Regions from separate parts of the Homo sapiens genome. Here all the other regions are linked to region 1. Evidence: promoter capture Hi-C in 16 types of primary human blood cells and fetal thymus (Javierre and others, 2016). All regions are on one chromosome and are shown on one strand. The core of a region is centred on a gene start or on the middle of the fragment in contact, and the rest is flanking DNA. Distances in the headings are between cores, read along the strand shown.

Evidence for each region. The method cuts DNA at HindIII sites, captures the fragments that hold promoters and counts their contacts. A CHiCAGO score of 5 or more calls a contact.
Region 2: a contact is called between the fragment with the promoter of ASB1 here and the fragment with the promoter of COPS9 in region 1, in 3 of 17 cell types (total B cells, fetal thymus and naive CD8 T cells). The highest score is 11.6, in total B cells.
Region 3: a contact is called between a fragment that was not itself captured here and the fragment with the promoter of COPS9 in region 1, in 2 of 17 cell types (neutrophils and M0 macrophages). The highest score is 6.9, in neutrophils.

The regions. Positions count from the first base shown.
Region 1 is chr2:240,134,003-240,138,496 of GRCh38, forward strand. It overlaps COPS9 (COP9 signalosome subunit 9), which reads right to left and starts at 2,303. Exons shown (of 3, transcript NM_001163424.2): 1 at 2,220-2,303; 2 at 1-3. The coding sequence starts at 2,282. RefSeq lists a silencer at 2,115-2,164 and enhancers at 2,605-2,704, 2,715-2,824. The HindIII fragment of the contact is 4,227 bases long and covers 1,466-4,494 here.
Region 2 is chr2:238,424,558-238,429,051 of GRCh38, forward strand. It overlaps ASB1 (ankyrin repeat and SOCS box containing 1), which reads left to right and starts at 2,370. Exons shown (of 5, transcript NM_001040445.3): 1 at 2,370-2,562. The coding sequence starts at 2,514. LOC124908002 (a long non-coding RNA gene) reads right to left here and starts at 2,337. Exons shown (of 2, transcript XR_007088163.1): 1 at 1-2,337. RefSeq lists enhancers at 951-1,486, 2,999-3,118 and silencers at 1,819-2,208, 2,229-2,748. The HindIII fragment of the contact is 6,850 bases long and covers 1-4,128 here.
Region 3 is chr2:238,982,001-238,986,494 of GRCh38, forward strand. No RefSeq gene overlaps it. Among named protein-coding and RNA genes, the nearest start is that of LINC01940, 58 kb to the left of the region's middle. RefSeq lists enhancers at 2,980-3,962, 3,963-4,494. The HindIII fragment of the contact is 1,166 bases long and covers 1,542-2,707 here.

The DNA.
Region 1 (4,494 bases), core at 1,053-3,552:
CGCCTGGGGAATGGAAAGGCAAGGTTATGTCAGGTGCGTTTTCCGAAAGAACAGGTGATAAGTGCATTGCAGGGCCACTACCCCCACAAAAAAAGAAGATGGGTGAGGGGAAACAGGCTCAAGTTGGAGTCAACATTTTAGTTCCAGACACAGGAATGTGTATTGGGGGGAGGGGGAGGAATTCAAAGGAATGATTTTTAAGGTCTCTCAAGGGCTTCTGTTCCTTGATTCCTGTCTGCCTTTAAAAAAGAAACCTACCACTGACCTAAGCACCACTACTTCTCTGTGCCCCTCAAGGAGAGCTTTCCGATCCCTCGCCGGACATCGCCAGAGGCCACAAACATGCGAAATTGAGCCCATCGCCTCCACTCAGGATCCCTTCCCTCTCTCTTCTGGGAATGAAACCACTTCCCCGAGGAAACTGACCTGCTCTGCCTCTGAGGTTCTGGTGCCCCGCTGCTATCATGGACCGTCCACTGCCACAACTCCACGGCAGTGGAAAAACCATGTCACAACCCAAGCTGGGCAATCTGAAGCCCTCAGGATTTTGGGTCCTGTTTAGAGTCAACCGGTGACAGAGGGAGCAGATTCCTCTGACAGCAGCACCCTGGACAGCTGGCCACAGGTCCTGCTGCTGCCCTGGCCCCAGCATTCACAAGGCCGCTTGCTCAGACCTGCCCTGATCCCCACATAGCTGCATGCCCTTGTTCCCTTTCAGACACTCTCAGAAAAGCCAGGACACTCAGTCTCCTCCCCTGGCTTCTCAGCCACCCTCCCTGTCCCCATCAGCACAGTAAGCCACGCGCATTCTACCACTTGAAGCTTGTCCCTACCTCCATCTGCCTCATTCACACCCTCTTCAACTCTCCTGTTCTCCCTGCTCTCATTTTTCTACCCTCTCACCCGTAAATGCTGCCACCCTACAGAGCAAGTCGGAGCCTCTCACTCCCCACTGTAAAGCCCTCCGGTGGCTCCACATCGCCTAGGACTGTGAAGCCTAGGACTGTAAAACAGGACTGAGAAGCCTGGGTTTAATGGAAGTGCTTCGGGAGCGGGGTGCACAGAGCCACCCTCTTTAGCATGGTTCCAGATGGTTTCACGATCTGGGTAGGGAGAGAGTCCCTACCCACTGTCTCCCCTCTCTCTGGCACTGCACGCTCAACCATGTTAAACGACACAACATTCCCTTCCCTTGGTGAGCCAGTCGGCATCCCCCAACCCAGGGCTCTGCTCCTGCCGGGCCTTCATCCCCCACTACCTGGCAAACACCAATGTGTCCCCCAGCATTTGGCCACAGAGTCGACTCCTCAGCTGTACCTTTGCTGAGCCCCCTCAAAGCCCTGAGGGTCCATCCGTCGGTGCGCCTTCGGCTTTCTATGACACCTGGTATTTGCAATCAGCCGCTCTGCCATGCTATTACCTCCACAAGCACAAGGGCTGCCTCTGACCACCTCTGCAGCCCCTAAGCTTTGAGAAAGAGCACATAAGGCCCTGACATGTAGGAGCTGGCCTGCCACTCTGAGCTAGGCTGTGGTGCTCTCCTGCTGACCATAAACCATCTCAGAACGCTCACATCAGACAAGGTCACTCTGTGAACACAATAGAGACCAACAAAACCCCAAGACGACTGTATAATCCTGTATAATTAAAAAGAAGAACGAGGCCACTACGCAAAGCACATAAATGCCAGATGTCTCCTTTTCCGCTCCGACAGGAATGACGGCTGCTCCAGTCTTCCCTCATTCTAGTTAAGATTAAGAGGCCCAATCGGAGAATTATCCTCGCTTCCAAGGCACAGTAAAGCCCACTTTCTTCCCCCAAATCCCCTAACACGAGCTCAAATCCCACACGAGGTTATGGAGACGCACCGCGGGCCCCCATGGGGTGCTGCAGCCATCGAAGAGCAGCAAACGCAACTCCTCTGACCACGGGTGTGTTCCCGGGGGCCGTGGGGGCACCCAGCAGGCACTCAACCCTCAGGCTGCGCCTCCTGGTCCCCCGGGCTAGGGCACACGCTTCCCGCCGCGGTCGGTCGCCGCCTTTCACCAGGTGCTCGGAGAAACCGGGATTTGCTCTCCGCGGGGCAGGGAGCCTGGGAGCCGCGCCCATCGCCCACCCGCCCGGCCTCCCCTCCCCGGGACCCGCGCACCAGGACGCCGCCCTTCCGCTCCCCCTTCCCCGCTCCCCACGCTCGGAGACTCCCGCCGGGCCCGTGCCACCTCGTCCAGGTCCACGTAGGGCCCGGCGCCCTCGGGGAACATCTCGTCCACCGCCGGCTTCATCTCGGGGCCGCGGCGCTCTAGGCTCACTTCCGGCCTCAGAGCCGCTTCCGGCGCGCGCCACATGGCAGATCTAGACGCCGGAGGACCGCGCCTCTGTGGTGCCCGCCCGCTGGGGTGCTCCCGGCCGCCGGCGCGTCCGCGGCCACCGGCGTTTGTCTTTGCGCTGGCGAGGGCGGGCGTCTGCAACGCCTCTGATGGGCGGCCGGGCGGCCACGGGGAGAAAAGGCTGCCAGCAATGGGAGCAGTGCCTGCAGAGCACGCCTCCGACCAGAGGCCGGATCCAGAATAAAGAAGGAGCCTCAGACTCTGCCGCAAAGACGGCCGGGTTCACAGGAGCCCAGGGCTTGACCTTCAGACGTTTGTCTGAAGAAGACACACTCGCGGCCAGTGAGCAGATGAAGAGGTGAAAGCAAACCAGGGCCCCACGGCCGCTGCACCCCTGGGACGCCCAGAGTCAAAAAAACAGCAAAACACGGGTGGAAGGGTGCGCGGCACACGGGGCCCCTCGCACCGCGGCGGGGAGTGAGACGCGGCAGCCGGGGCGGGAGACGGGGGGGGGCAGGTCCCAGAAAATCAAACACGGACACCCACGTGGCCCAGCACTCCCCTTCCGGGCACAAGCCCAGAGGACCAAAAGCCGAGGCTCCAAGGGGCGTCTTTACCCCACGTTCACAGCAGCGTTATTTATAATAAATGAAAAAGGGAAGCGTCCCCCGCTGTCCCTGCCCATCGATGGATACGTGCATAAGCAAATGTGGGCCATGCACACTGTGGAACATTACTCAGCCTTTAAAAGGAAGGGAATGCCGACACCTGCTGCCACGCGCAGGAACATTGAGGACGCTCTGCCGAGGGAAACGGGCCAGTCCTAAGACAAACACCGCATGATTCCACTCAGCCGAGGCCCCTAGAGGAGTCAAAGTCATAGAGACAGAAAGTAGAAGGGGGTTATCAGGGTCTGGGGAAGGGGAAATGGGGAGTTCGTGTTTAGTGGGGACAGATTTTCAGCCTTGACAGATGAAAAGGATCTGTAGAGGCTGCTGGTGATGGCTGCACAGTTCGTGAATGTGCTTAACGTCACTGAAATGTGGTTAAGATGGAAACAATTTGTGAAGTTTTACCGTAATGAAAAAAACAACAAAAAAGAATGTGACAGAAATGCGAGGGAAAGGAGAAGGAAAGGGGTAAGAGGAGGGAGAAGGTTGGAGGAAGAGAGGGAGAGAGGAAGAACAGGGGAGGGAAGGAGAGAGAGCAACAGGTCCTGGAACTAGACTTTGCCAAAGATTCCTTGCTCAGCCAGACTTCGGTGGCCTCCTAACCTCCTCCCAGGCCCATCTGTGCACTGCATTGTCAGGTTCAGTTTTCGCAGAGAGCCCTGCTAAGTTGGTTTAGCCAGAGCCCCCCACCCTGGATATTGGATCGGGTTCCTGGTCCCCCAGCATCCCCAGGATGTCTGATGGCCCAGACCTGTCTTCAGCGAAAGCCCTGCGGGGTCGGCCGAGCCAGCATCCCGTCCCGCACTGTGTTCCTCCCAGTCATTTGCCACCCGCGACCCCACCTGCTCCTCAGCCGCAAACCCCCACTGCCTGTGCTGTTCGGAGCTGAGCCTGGTCTCCCTCCCCCACTGCAAGATCCCGTTGCAGTGGTCCCCACACCCGTCTCCAGGGTTCGGAACAACTTCTGAAAATTTCCAATAATGTTTTCCTTTAACAGGCCTTAGAGGAGTTGGGTTTGGGGGTTAGGCTGTAGAGAAGGGGAGTGGGGGGCGGCATGGATGAGGGTAGTTCCAGGGACAGGAATTGAGCTGAAATGTGAGGGGTGTGTGTGGCCTGAAAAGGGGCCGCCTGGCCTGAGTGGACAGTGTGGGACGCAGGGAGAAGCTGGCAGTGGATATTGGGTGAGCCTCATGCCATGCCAATGTGCATCACCCTGAAGGACCCAAGTGAAAGTCAGTCCGATGGAACAGGGGCTTGGCAGTGACTAAGAAGATTGACCCATTAAGTCAAGGTCTTTACTAGCTAAGGGGTGGAGCTGTGGGTCTCCACGGTCTGCTTGTACACCCTACAGGGATGGGGGGCTCACCACCTGTGCAGAGGCCATCCTATTGCTGGAGGCCCATCCCTGAGACACCATCGTGCTGCCTGCCCAGTCTTCCAGTGCCCCAGGTGAAGCCCCCTTCCTCCCAGCATCCTCAAAGCCTAGAGCCGTCCCT
Region 2 (4,494 bases), core at 1,120-3,619, 1.7 Mb before region 1:
GATTTTAGGGGTGGGAAAACGGGAGGGAGCCACTGGGACCTGGAGGGGCAAGACAGCCCACTGCACTGGTCCTGTTGCTGCTGTGCTGGGCTGGGATGGCACTGGTAGGCACTGGTAAATCCCTGTTGCTTGTAGGTGATGGGACCCAAGTTGCTTCATCTCTAGCGGTCACTGAGTGTCCCTGTGTTGGTGGGTCTTTTGGGCTCAGAGGACCTGGAAGAAGAGGGACTCTGGAGAGGTGAGGTCAGAGGGGGAGACAGGCTGTAGGGCTGGACAGTCTGGATGTGATCCCAACTCAGCCACCTGTGGGCTATGTGGTTTTGGGCATAGCACCAGGCCCCCAGATCTCAGGGTCCTGAGAAATGGGGGTGATGGTATTGGCAGAGTGGCCAGCAATTGAGTGTCCTTCCCCCTCCAGCACTGCTGGCTCTGTGGACACTGCCCTGCACCATGTGGGCATTTAGGAGGCACGGAGGTGGGCATGTGAGGCCACCTCCCCGCTACAGACCACGTGCGGCCTCAGGTTCTTCTAAGAGGCAGGATCCCAAGGGCAACACGTGGCAGGGAAGGTGGAGGTGCAGGTGCAGGAGGGCCACTCTGCTCAGGGACTCAATACCTTGATGCAAAGGCTACCGACACGCAGAACGCTCACTGTGAGCCCACCGGGACCAGGCAGGCAGAGCAGCGGAGGCCCCCGGAGACGTGGCTCTCACCAGGCTGCACTTTAGAATCACCTGGGTGCTCTGAACCACCCAACACCCAACCCGCACCCCTGACTGACTGCACCGGAACCTCTTTTAAAAAATTCTTTAAAACAATTGTGGTAAAATATATAGAACATAAAACTTAACCTGCTTTAAATGCGCAGTTCAGTACTGTTAATGCACAATTCACATTGCTGTGTGACCCGTCTCCAAAACTTTTTCATCTTCCTCAACTGAAGCTCTGTCCCCATGAAAAACTAACTCCTCATTCCCCACTCCCCCAGCCCTTGGCAACCCCCATTCCGCTCCACCATTTCACTGCTCCAGGGACCTCAAATAATTGGAATCACACAGTACTGTATTTGTCTTTTTGTGGCTGGCTTATCTCACTCAGCATAACGTCTTCAAGGTCATCCGTGTTGTGACGTGTGTCAGGATTCCCTTCCTTTCTAAGGCTGAGTACGAATCCATTGTATGGACGGACAGCATTTCCTTTCTAAGGCTGAGTACGATTCCATTGTATGGATGGACGGCATTTCGTTTATCCATTCATCCATCCAACAACACGTGAGGCGGCTTCAGGCTTCGGAGTTGCTGAAGCTCCGAGTTCGGGATGTGCAGCTGTGGTGGAGCCAGGGGCTGGGCACACCCCTGGCTCCTGGCCTGGCAGCGTCATCATCGGAGTCACCTGTCCCTCATGCCAGTGGTGCTCTCTGCTGTCATCAAGACCAAACACCACTGTAGGAAGTACCCCCACTCCCGCCTCCAACCCCCACAGGGCCTGCCAGGTCTGCCCCCAGTGGGCCCCCTGGTGCATCTGGGCCACCCAGGGCCAGCCTCAGCAGGGGCACTCGCGGGGCTGCGCCTGCGGCTTCCCTTACTCCAGTCTGGAATGTTGTACACACGGATGAGCCAGCAGCTCACGCCCACGACTGCTGGGGTCTCCGGACTCCCTCATCAGCCTCCTGCTGTGCTGTGTACAAATCCTCCTCCTGCATGAGGCCCCGCTGTCTAACTCAGCAGGGGAGAATGGGAGGAGCCAAGGGAATCCGTGCTTTAGGACCAACACCAATACTCATGGTGGGACGACGCTGCGATATTTGAAGTTGGGAGTGTGCAAGAAATGTTACTCGGTTGTTCACGAATGCATTCATTTATTCAATGAACTTCGCGTCAGCCACTGGCTGTCATCAGTTACCGACCTGATTGAGGGCTTCATGGAAGGGATTTGGAGGAGCATTCATCTAAAACCACAGCACGCTGCGACGCTCAGCCCTGCAGTGGGCCCTCACCAGTCCCCGCGCCTCCGAATCCACCCTCCCGGGGCTGCTCGTGGCTAGCGGGGGGCACCTGCGGGGACCAAGCCAGCCCGGCCGAGGCCCGGGTCCCGCCCGCCACGGCCCTCGGGGCCCCGCCCACATCTGGCAGAAGCCACGCCCCGTCCGTGTGGGTGGGGACGGCCCGCCGGACCGAAATTCCCAGACTGCTGCCTCAGGCAACGGGCTTTCCGACTCCTTGGCTTCTTATGTGAGGAAACCACAGCGCGGCCGGCATCCAGAGAGTCGGTTAGCCGCGAAGTTCCCGCCGGACGAAGGGACCAGCCAGCGCCCTGCTAGACAGCGAGGCCGGAAGCGGAGGCGTGGCCCCTGCGCGGCCCCGGAAACCAGTGAGGCCGGCGCGCGCCCGCCGGAAGCCGCGACCCCGACGCGCCCCCCATTGCCCTCGGCGCCGGAAGTGGTCGCGGGTCGTTCTGCTTCCTGCCCGAGGGGCGTGCGCGGGTCAGGGGCGGCCGCGGAGGCGGAAGCATCCATGGCGGAGGGCGGCAGCCCAGACGGGCGGGCAGGGCCGGGCTCCGCAGGTAACGTGCGCGCGGCCACTGGGCCGCGGGGCGTGTGGGGATGGCGAAGGGCTGGCTCCGGCGTCCCTGCCGAGGTCCTGCGTCCTCGTCCCGGGCTGGCCGGGTCCACGGGGCAGCCAGGGAGCCGCACCCTGCAGGCCGGGGGTGGGGTTCAGCGCGGCTCGCAGTGCTGGGCGACCCCACCACGGACGCGCTGCCCTCTCCTCGGCCTCGAGTGCAGTCCCCGCGCTAGATTTTCTTTCCGGTGGAACTTGCTCGTAACTTCCTTCCCGTTAGCCGATACAGATTTGATATGACCCAACCGCAAAAGTAGGACGTGGGCCACCTTCCAGCTCTGAGCGCACGGATCAGGAAAGCCAGCCAGAGGGTAGCCCTAGGGAGGGCAGGCACTTTTTCACCATTCTGCCGCCCACGGCGTGTCCGGTGGTACAGCGGGGGGCAGCCTTCCCACCCACCACAGGCACAGACCAGGGACAACGGGGACGCCGTCTCCAGCGAGCTCGTCAGTGACACAACATGTCCAGGGGCCTTTGGCCCACCAGCAAGGGAGGCAGATAGAAAGGCTCACACCCACCTTCCAAAATAACTGTCCTACTTAGGGTCTCCACCTTGCAGTGTCCCTACCATGCAGATGTGAAGGAAGCGGTCAGGACAGGTTCCCGTTTCCCGGTGGTGTGGTGGGAGTTCCTTCTTGCTGGATTTCTGAGCTTGCCATTCGCGCCAATAGTTTCGTGTGTTCTGGGCTTTCTTTACATGCCTATATTTGTCTTTGGAGGGGTTCCTCTCCTACTTAGTAATAAACCAATACATTTCTTAAACATCTTAAAAGATTGACTTGGAGACTGGTGCAGATAGGCTTTTCCATCCATCCCTCCCTCTGCACCTCCTTCCAATCATTTAACAGACTTGTATTGAAGACCTGCTGTTGGCTAGACCCAGCAGAGGATACTGCAGTGACCAGAAAAAGCCAGACAAAGCATCTACCATCCTGGGCTTTGGTTGGCGTTGACTTTGACTTCAGAGACAGCCAGGACCTTAGGGTCTAGGATGTCATCTCATGTGAGAGTGAGAGACGGAATGATGCGTGTTCCGTGGGAAAAAGAGGACCAACAGCTACTTCCCAGTATAAAGAGAGTTCCTGGGGAATAAACACTGGCTTTGTCGGCTGCACAGGTCTCCTTTTTTTTTGAGACGGAGTTTCGCTCTTGTTGCCCAGGGTGGAGTGCAGTGGCGTGATCTCGGCCCACTGCAGCCTCCGCCTCGGGGGTTCAAGCGATGCTCTGGCCTCAGCCTCCCTAGTAGCTGGGATTACAGGTGCTGGCATCATGCCCGGCTAATTTTTGTATTTTAGTAGAGACGGGGCTTCACCATATTGGCATATTGGCCAGGCTGATAGCGAACTCTAGACCTCAGGTGATCTGCCCGCCTCTGCCTCCCAAAGTGCTGGGATTACAGGCGGCAGCCACCACACTCAGCTGAGGGCTCCTTTTTATATCCTCATGCACTGCTGTTTTGTTATTCAGTGTGTTTCGGCCTCGGGTAGAGGGGCAACAGATTTTCAGTTGAAGCTTAAGTGCTATCCTGGGGCAGTTGTGTTGTCATTGGAGTAGTTGATCAGCGAAACACAAACTTGAAGTTGCTTTTGAATCTGGAGCTGGGGAAAGATTCTGAGTCTACTTTGAGCAGGGCCAGGAATGGATAGCACAGAGGCCAGCAGAGGGGGCCCAGAAGAGGGCTCAGCAAAAGTCCTGTGGCCGCCATTTACCTGTTGGTTATTGCCCTACACCTGAATCTTTCCCACTCCGACTTTGAACTTTTTCACTCTGTAGTAACCGCAACTGTGGAGTAATTACAGGGGAGGATAGTTACTGAAGGAAGACTGGGGTGGTGGCTTAAAGAGCTGTTCATGCCGGCTTGTTGATCTGCGGCGAG
Region 3 (4,494 bases), core at 875-3,374, 1.2 Mb before region 1:
TGACCACTGTATACCCCGCTTTTTGAAGTCCTTTTTCTACAAAGGAACTTCCATCAGTATACAAGTTGAGGTCGGGATCAGTCAAGGGAACCTCTAGAAGGTCCCCTCGAGCAGCGTAGGTTTGAGCAATCACCTGTTGACAGTTATGTTCTATCTTTTCTTCATTGTCTGGAAGAAATGTGGCTGGGTTAAGAGTTGCACAAGTGCGCAGTTGCGGCACTGGCCCTTCAAGTAATACAGCCTGATATTTAAGTAAACGGTTGTCTGACAGCCATAAGTCTCCTTTAGCAGTGAGTATGCCGTTCACATCATGAGATGTCCACACAGTAAGATCTCTTCCCTGTATTATTTTAACTGCTTCAGATACTAAGACTGCTACTGCTGCCACTACCTGTAAACAATGAGGCCAACCTTTGTGATTATTTTTCAAAAATGGCTTAATTCTTCTTGGCCCTTCATGTTTTCATATACATTTTAGTGTCATTTGGTGTCAAATTCCACCCTAACCCTTGCCTTCCACCCCTCCCAAAAAAAACTATGGACGCTTTGTTTTTGGGGGTTTTTTAGAGGTTTTTTAAAAAACTTCTATTTTAAGTACAGGGGTGCACGTGCAGGTTTGCTACATAGGTAAATCTGTGTCACAGGGTTTGTTGTACAGATATTTTATCACCCAAGTATTAAGCTTAGTACTCATTAATTATTTTTCCTAATCCTCTCCCTCCTTCCACCCTCCACCCTCCAATGGATCCCAGTGTGTGTTGTTCCCCTCTATATGTCCCTGTGTTCTCATCATTTAGCTCCCACTTATAAGTAAGAACATGTGGTATTTGGTTTTTTGTTCCTGTGTTAGTTTGCTATGGATCATGGCCTCCAGCTCTATCCATGTTGCTGCAAAGGACATGATCTCATTCTTTTTTATGGCTACATAATTATATTGTGTATATGTATCATATTTTCTTTACCCAGTCTATCATTGATGGGCATTTAGGTTGATTCCATGTCTTTGCTATTGTGAATAGTGTTGCAACGAACATACCCGTGCATGTGTCTTTATAATAGAATGATTTATATTCCTTTGAGTATATACCTATGGGATTGCTGGGTTGAATGGTATCTCTGTCTTCAGGTCTTTGAGGAATTACCTTGCTGTCTTCCACAATGGTTGAACTAATTTATACTCCCACCAACAGTGTATAAGCGTTAAAAACTATGGACTTTTTGACTGGGATTGCATGAAATCTACATACCTATTTGGGAAGAATTTACATCTTCATATATTAGCTATTTCTCATCCATGAACTTAATGTATTCTTCCATTTGGGAGGCTGAGGCAGAAGAATCACTTGAACCTGGAAGGTGGACGTTGCAGTGAGCTGAGATCGCACCACTGCACTCCAGCCTGAGGGATAAGGCAAGACGATCTCAAAAAAAAAAAAAAAAAAAAAAAAACCAAACAAATAAAATAAATAAATGAATAAATAAATAATGTCTTTATAAAAAGTTCTCTTTTTCCATCATAGAATTCATATGCATTTTGTTCAAGCTTATTTCCAGGGACTTCATTTTTTTTAAAAAATGGTTTGTTTTTCTGTTTTTTTCCCTAGTTGTTTCTGGAATGTAAAATGTAATTGATCTTTGTATATTGATTTTGTATCCAGCAACTTGTTACATTCTTATTAATTCTAATAAATTCAACTTAGATTCTTTATGTACTTTTAGGCACACAATCATAATATCTGTGAATAGTGGGGGAGCTGAACACAGCTCACTAAAAGCAGGACACCCATGTGGGTGGTTATGGGTATATTTGGCTTTCTCTAGTTGGTCCTATGTTAGAAGCAGGGACAAAAATTAGGGAAGATGTCAGCTGTTCATTGAATCCTGGCCACTTGGGGTCAGTTGTTACAAAGGCTCTTGTTTGGCTTCCTGGACAGGTTGCTGGAGATGGTGGCCTGCCTTCCTCCACATCTGGCTTATTGACAGCAAGCTGGCCTCGGGGCTGGTCACTGTAGGAAAGGGGTGGGTTTCCGGGGCTGGTTGCCGCAGGTTGCAGGCCAGAGCTTTGTTTTTGTTTGTTTGTTTGTTTTGAGACGAAGTCACGCTCTTGTCACCCAGGCTGGAGTGCAATGGCGCAATCTCGGCTCACTGCAAGCTCTGCCTCCCGGTTTCAAGCAATTCTCCTGCCTCAGCCTCCCCAGTAGCTGGGACTACAGGTGTGCGCCACCACACCCACCTACTTTTTTTTGTATTTTTAGTAGAGACGGGGTTTCACTATGTTGGCCAGATTGGTCTTGAACTCCTGACCTTAGGCGATCAGCCCGCCTCGGCCTCCCAAAGCGCTGGGATTACAGGCATGAGCCACCACGCCCGGCCGCTCTGTTTGTATACACGGTCTGACCAGTGTCCATCTGTGTAGTCAGCTTCTCACTCTGCAACAGGTAACTAAAGGAAGCATGGAGATCACTCAGCTTCCAACCTGGCTTCTCTCTTCTCAGCTATAAGACTGAGTCAGGATCCACCATCTAACTCTGCTGTGAGCAGGGTCAATATTAAATGATCCTGTTCAATGTTTTCACCTGTTTTCCAAGAAAGGGTCTGAATGATTTGAAGAGGAAATATTTTTGTTTAGAAATAAATTATTGTCAAATAACATATATCAAAATTTGAGAAAAAATAAGCATTCAAGGTCTCTGACTTGACTGAAGAAAGCTTCAACATGTGCATCTATAGTGAGACACAGTCATTTTTGTGGTTGGTGGGGAGCTGCTTTTCCTACAGAAGTACGGAACCATGCATGACGCTGGCAGAATCCAGGTCAATGAGCATGTGCTTAACCATAATTTTTAAAAATACATATTTTGTTTTGTACCAAAGGGCTTTCATCTTCTCCTCCTTTGTAAAAATCACACAGCTTTTGAGTCCGTTTGTGTTGGCTTTCATTGAACTGTCCTGGGTTTTATCAGCCCAGAGACATTCCCTCCAGGACTCCTACGGGTGCCACCTCCAGAGCGGTAATCAGGGCTAAGCTTAATTAGAGAGAAAAACTTCCAGAAAGGGCAACTCCATCCCTTTTTATGGTAAAATAAACACATTTCCAAAAGGGGCCTTTCCTTTAATTAAATTCTCTGCAATGTGGCAGCTGCTTGGGAGGTATTTTTGCATATTTGGGTTTAAGAAGATGTATGTACATAGAGGTGATGTCACATTTGGAATGATGAGTGTTTATAAGACCAAGTTTATGAGTTTACTAACTCGCAAGCCAGCTATCTTCATACCAGAAAGGACAAAGCCAGCGTCCAAGCGTGGGCCTTCCCACGTCCAGCCATCTCGTAAAAACAGGCGAGGTGGGCCTCGGGAGAGACACAAATGTCAGGGGCGCAACACAAAAACCGAACAGGAATGTGGGGATGGGGGCTGCCGGCCCCTGGCGCTCAGCGGGAGGCCCCACCATAGAGCTGGGGCCCAGGGAGTTTGAGTATTTACCCCAGAGGTTACCCAGGATGGACGTGTTCAGTCTGGGCACACAATCAAAGCCCGCGCGGGCCCCTCAGGGAGGGTCTTTCCCCTCCTGCTGGGAGGCAGGGTCCCCAGCGCCCCCTGACCTCGCCCTTGCAATTGCTCAAACTTCAGGACCGCTCATCCCAGGCTCCACGGGGCTGCTGCAGAGCCAAGAAGACCCTGTTCTACTGAGCGACCGTTCAAGGGACAGTACTTTTTAGGGGGGTCAATATGAATCTCCTAATTTAACCTCTCCGCTGCCACAGCCATTCAACCCGTCCCTACAGAGCTCCTGCAGCGGTGCTCACGTGGCCTTCGGGAGGATCCACCAAGGTCACCTGCGTCACACCGGGGAACGACTCCCTCCCTCCCAAGAAAGCTCCGAGACAAAACCTGTACCAGGAAGGGTCCCTCGGCTCGTGGTGCTGCAGTGAGCCAGGCTACACCCTGGCTGGCAGAGCCCCGGGGCTTCCAGCAGCGCAGCCCTAGGCCTGCGGAGGGAAGGCTGCACTCCAGCCTGTCGGGGCCGCCGGACAGCTCTCCTGGGAGGCTTGGGCCTGGCACACTGGGGCCCTCGCTCCCCTCTCCATCGCCCTCTAACCTTGGTTCAGCTCCCGGCCCGCCCCTTCCCAGTGGGAACAAAGGCAGTAGCGATGTCCTCGCTGCCGCCTTCTTCCTCCAAGAGGAGTCCACTCCCTGCAGTCCGGCCCCGCTGCCTCTCCACGCGGGCTGCCTCTTTCTCATCCCTGCGCCGGCGCATCCTCTCAGATCCACAGCAAGGAGGGGACGTGCGGGGGAGGGGTCGGCTGGCTAAAACCCAGGCTCGCCCACAGAATGGTGGGACCCCTGCCTCAGGTGGTGGGAGATGCGTGCAGGGTCCCAGCCCCAGGGCAGGCGCCTCAGCCTCTGCGCGGGGCCGCCCTGCTCTTCCCTGGCTCGCTGGGATCCAGGCCCTGGTCTAAGCCCCTGGCCTCACCTGCCCTGCGCAACCAACGG